Regions from separate parts of the Homo sapiens genome. Here region 1 is linked to region 2. The links are contacts of gene promoters, found by promoter capture Hi-C in blood cells and fetal thymus (Javierre and others, 2016). All regions are on one chromosome and are shown on one strand. The core of a region is centred on a gene start or on the middle of the fragment in contact, and the rest is flanking DNA. Distances in the headings are between cores, read along the strand shown. Region 1 has its middle 21 kb from the start of TOGARAM2. Region 2 holds the start of PCARE (photoreceptor cilium actin regulator).

Region 1 (2,813 bases), core at 54-2,553, 110 kb before region 2:
ACAAACGTCAATATAAAAAGCATCCACTAGGTGCCAGTCTTGCTTTGTGCAAATTTCTTTTTATCCCAGCCTTCTGGGAGAGCAGTTGGTTCTGGCCGCCTCCTGTCTAAACTCCCGTGGAGGGTGGGGATGTGAGCTTTCTGCGCGCCAGCCCTCTGGGATTGGCTGAGAGAATCTCCAAAGTGCTTGCAGCTCTTTTCTGGTGTCCAAGTCCTGAAGCGGAACCTGAATGACTGTAGCCCAGCAGCAGGCGTGATGAGAGGGGCCTGGAGGGAATCCTGATGGGAGGAGATCGAGTCTCCAGGTGGTGGCTGCACCTCCAGTTTCCCTGGCCTGGCTGTACCCTCCCTGGACCTGACCAAACTCCCCACCGGGCTACAGATGCTAACCCGAAAAAGTGCCCAGCTGTCAAGAGAAGCTGCAGCAGCTCTTTAGTCTGACACAGTTGCTGAGCATAGGAAGCTTGAATTGATGTTTCCCCCTCATGTCCTTAAATAGTGAAGTAATAGCCAAAATAAGAAAGAAATTAACCACATCATACACCAACTGCATCAATTTCCCCATAGACTTTGTCCATGAAATCCAGGAGTTTACATATGTCAATGATAGTGGGGAAGAGGGAGAAGAATATGGTTTTTCACTTCTTTTCCCAACTTAGGAAAATTTCAAATATACAGAAAAGTTAAAAGAATAGTATAGGCCGGGTGCGGTGGCTCATGCCTGTAATCCCAGCACTTTGGAAGGCCGAGGGGGGCGGATCACAAGGTCAGGAAATCATGACCATCCTGGCTAACATGCTGAAACCCCATCTCTACTAAAAATACAAAAAATTAGCCGGGCGTAGTGGCGGGCGCCTGTAGTCCCAGCTACTCAGGAGGCTGAGGCAGTGAACCTGGGAGGCGGAGCTTGCAGTGAGCTGAGATCGTGCCACTGCACTCCAGCCTGGGCGACAGAGTGAGACTCTGGCTCAAAAAAAAGAAAAAAAAGAATAGTATGATGATCTGTATATACACGCCACTTAAAGTAAAACACTGTTGATATAGTCATATGACCCTTAACAACGGGGATATGTTCTGAAAGATGTTGTTAGGTGAAATTGTGTCATTGTGAGAATCAAAGAGTGCACTGACATAAACCTGGGCGGCACAGCCCGCTACACATGTGGGCTATCTTATGTAGCCTACATTGTTTCTAGGCTACAAACCTGGACAGCATGTTCCTGGACTGAGTACTGTAGGCAGTTGGAACACAGAGAGATGTGTGTATCTAAACATAGAAAAAGCCAAGTAATACGCTATTGTATTATAATCTTATGGGACCACCGTTGTATATGTGGTCCAACATTGACCAAAATGTCATTATGCAGTCCATGACTATATTTGGCTATATTTTTCTTCATCTGTATTTGTGTGCATATATTTATTTTTGCTGATCTACTAGAAAGTAAACTGAAGGCATCATCACACTTTATTCTTAACTACTTCAGGGTGACGTGCCTACAGATTATGACTCCTGCAATAACTACAATACCATTCTTATATCTCTGAAGCTCCAAACCGTAATCCCCTAATACCATCCTCCTGTCTAATTATTTAATATTATTTAATTTTTAATTTTTTTTGAGGCAGAATCTTGCTCACTCTGTCACCCAGGCTGGAGTGTAGCAGCAGCACGTTAATATTCAGTTTCTTTTCAAATCAGGATCCAATCCACACTCACTCACTGGGTTTGTTTGTCAAGTCTTCTTTAGTTACTTTTGCTCTAAAACGGTCTCTTACCCTCTTGCCCCCTTAGTTTTATCTGTAACAATCACACACCGAGGAGACCAGGCCAGTTGTCTTGCAGAATGAGCCACATGCTGGATTAGATCATTTCCCTAAGTGAGTTTAACTCATTCCTGTACCCTCTGTATTTTCTATCATCTGGAAGTTGTACCTCGGAACTACCCAGTACAACTTTCTGTGATGACAGAAATGTTCTCTGTGCTGTCCAAAATGGAAGTCATTCACCGCAGGTGGCCAGTGAGCACCTAACATGTATCCATGTGGCTGAGTGACAGAATTGTTAATTTTATGTCATTCTCACTAATTTACGTTTAAATAGCCACATGTAGCTAGTGGCTATGGTCTGAAACAGCACAGGTCTTAAGCTTGATTCGATTTGACAAGACATCAAAGGTGATGCTGTATACTTCATACCGGAACACACCAAGAGGCAAGATAATGACAAAGTCTTTCTTTTTCTTTTTTTTGGTTTGAGTATGATGTTTAGTATAAGATAGAGTGGCTTGGCAGAGTTGGTGCAAAACTGAAGAGAACCAGATTCAGTTCTAGTCAGTGAGTTAGCAGCCTAGGGTCAAAAAAATTGACCCTGCTGTCCTGAGTCCTCTGAGGCCCTCTGCACATCACCAGCTAGAAGCTCCGAGACTGATATGCCACTGCTTGGAGGCTTGGGTAGAATCCAAGTGTCCTCAGTTTCCAGAGTGACAAGAGACTGGCCCCAGCCATCAGAGCAGTAGACAAAGGCTTTTGTTTAAAAAAAGCTTTGAGGTATAATTTATTATTTAATTTTTAATTTTTTTGGAGGCAGAATCTTTCTCACTCTGCCACCCAGGCTGGAGTGTAGTAACGCAAACTCGGCTCACAGCAACCTCCGCCTCCTAGATTCAAGCGATTCTCCCACCTCAGCCTCCCAAGTACCTGGGATTATAGGCGCCCGCCACCATGCCCGGCTAATTTTTGTATTTTAGTAGAGATGGGGTTTTACCATGTTGGCCAGGCTGGTCTCGAACTCCTGATCTCAAGTGATCTGCC
Region 2 (2,802 bases), core at 19-2,518:
CCACAGCCACTCGCCAGGCTCTCTAGCTGCCTCAGAGCCCTCAGGAGGCGTTCATCCACATTCCTTTTTGTGCTCAGCTTATTTTCCAAGTGGGTTGCAGTGGAGTGGAGGTAGCTGCTGGAGCCCTCCAGGAAGCTGCCGGTGAGCGAGGCCACTGTGCCATTGAGCACCTGCAGCTTGCTGACTGTGTACTGTAGCAGCTGTTGCAGGAGATTTGGCTGCTCCTGGGGCTCTCTTTTCTTCAAAGGCCAAGCCAGATCCTCCCTGACTTCCTGCAGGAGCACTTCTCCATCCTTGGAGATCTCCCCCAACAGCTGGCTGATCTCCTCAAAGCACAGCAGCAAGAAGCTGACCATGGGCTGCAGCAGCTCCCGGGTCTGGGTGGCCTGATGGATGATGCACAGAATTGCTTCATATTTGGAGAGGCTGGAGTGTAGATAGGTGTAAGCCTGCTGGTGGGCCTTTACCAGAGGCTCCGGGAAGTCCACTTTGCCTTCAGGCTCATGAGCAGGGTGGATGGTTTGGTAGCAGTGGCTCTGTGTGCTTGACGTGTGACATTTTGCTGTCCTTTTCCATTTGGAAGTATCTTGGGTACTACTTTCCTCACTCTCATCTCCAGAAAAGTCTGCCCCTTGTGATCCATGGGAACCCTGTGTCTTGAACGGAATATCCTTAGCCATGTGGCTTTGTGATTTGTTCAGCTGGGATGAAGAGGTTTTGGTTCCTGGGATCAGTCCTTCCATATCTTTCCTTTTGCCTGAAGCAGGATCTCCCATGAGCTGACAAAGACCTTTAGCTGTGGTTTGGTTCCTCCTGGGACTTGGCTGCTCCTCTGCCAGGCCCTCCCCAGCGTCATAGCAGGTGGAGTTTTTAACCAGCAAAGGGATGGAACCTCTTTCACTTCCGCCCTGACATCCTGGCCGAATTGCTTTGGGCTTTTTCAAGAACTGAATGCCACTCTTTGCAACGCTGTTTACAAGGTCACTGTGTGAAGGTGTACACCCCATGATTTCAGCTTGTAGTCATCTTCCACCCACCTTCACAATTTTCCAAGAATCATATTTGAAATAGGAACAAAAGGCAATCTTACTAGTCCATCCAGGCAATTTTCAGGCCAGAATTCTTTGAAGTCCATGGTACAATATCCTAAACTTGGAACCAGCTTTCTTTATTTTCTTGGTCCAAATGTGAAGAGGGAGTGGTACCTGTCGTCCTGTTGTTGTTCTAAGTTTGGAACCCTCTGCTGTTAGTGAGCAGCGGGACAATTCTGAAGGCTCCCAGCCTGGTGGATTACGGGCCTGTGTTTTGCTCGCGTCCTGACAGATGTGGATAGCAAGTGCAGCTTAAGCCTATTAGGTTAATCATGCCCTAGCCAGTCAGCACTCACAGTGTGTTCTAATATAGAACTTCTCAGCATTTACTATCTTGGGAAGCGGATTATTTTTGCACGTGCTCATGCTTTTAATTCTGTTCAGACGCCTGCCATATGAAACCTAGAGAAATGAGCCATAATTGCAAAGGCTCTGGAAGAGATGCATTTGTGGAAGAGAAGAGAGGGCTCGTTGATTACAGGCCCTGGAAGAGAAGTGACCTTCACGGTTTAATAAGGGCAAACCAGCCAAGTGTGCTCCAATCTGCTGTTATCAAGAAGCCCCCAAAACACACAATAGATAATAATTGAAGTAATGCATTATTGTTTGTGTGGCTTATAAAAACCCCGGGACTCTAGTATAGAGAATGTCTCTAAATAAGATAGTGAATGAAGAAGGCAGGTTGCTTTTCCTTTGCATTAGAAAATTGAGTTAGGTAGCAGGAAAGCTATCCCCCCCAGTTTGGATGGGGACAGCAGGAAAAGTCACTGCCATGTAAAGCTCAAGGCTGGTCACTACGCTCAGGAAGGCAATGCTTTCATGGGAAGAGGCTTCTTATTCAAACTTCTTCATAGGAAAACAAGCTAAAAACTGGGCAGTGGAGAGCCATTTCATTATTAAGAGGAGAACTCAAGGGGAAGCCCATTTTTCTGCTCAAACTGAGCATGGGGCTCCTGCCTGTGGCTAAGGGTAGCAGCTGCCCATTTAAAACCTCCTTTTAAACTTTATTTGCTGTCAGTAAAATCTAGAACAACAGCTTGGCCTAGAAAGACTGGAGTTTGAATCCTGAGTCTTTCTCCTGTTAGTTGAGGAAACTTCTGATAGTTTTTAAGCTTTCCTGAGGCAGAGCTCATCTTTGAAATGAGGACCACGGTACTTACCTCACAGAGCCATTGTGAGGATTGTCAATTAATACTTGGTAAGTGCTTGACCCAAGGTAGGTACTCAAAAACATGCAGTTTCAGCCAGGTGTGGTGACTCAACGCCTATAAATCTCGGCACTTTGGAAGGTTGAGGCAGGCTTATCATTTGAGCTCAGGAGTTTGAGACCAGCCTGAGCAACATGGTGAGGCTGTCTCTACTAAAAATACAAAAAATTAGCTGGGGATGTTGGCACCCACCTGTAATCCCAGCTACTCCGGAGGCTGAGGTGGGAGAATCACCTGAGCCTAGGAAGTTGAGACTGCAGTGAGCTGTAATAGTGCTATTGCAAGCTGGCCTGGACTTTGGAAGTGAGACCCTGTCTTCAAAAAAAAAAAAAAAAAAAAAGTTTCTTACTCCTTTCCCCCTGGAAGCTAGGGCACTTATAATAATGAAAGTCATAAGAATTTCATTGGTTTGCGTTGGTTTATTCCTGAATGGTCTGGAAATAATTGCCTATGATGCACTTAGAGCCCTCTGAATCTGGTGTTCTTTTTGCCCCCCACCCCCA

The links. Contacts are between HindIII fragments. The CHiCAGO score rates a contact against its expected background, and 5 or more counts as called.
Region 1: a contact is called between a fragment that was not itself captured here and the fragment with the promoter of PCARE in region 2, in 1 of 17 cell types (M2 macrophages). The highest score is 7.7, in M2 macrophages.

Annotation. Positions count from the first base shown.
Region 1 is chr2:28,958,774-28,961,586 of GRCh38, forward strand. It overlaps a transcript of TOGARAM2 not described here. Among named protein-coding and RNA genes, the nearest start is that of TOGARAM2, 21 kb to the right of the region's middle. The HindIII fragment of the contact is 1,687 bases long and covers 461-2,147 here.
Region 2 is chr2:29,073,255-29,076,056 of GRCh38, forward strand. PCARE (photoreceptor cilium actin regulator) reads right to left here and starts at 1,269. Exons shown (of 2, transcript NM_001029883.3): 1 at 1-1,269. The coding sequence starts at 1,007. The HindIII fragment of the contact is 3,299 bases long and covers 1-2,201 here.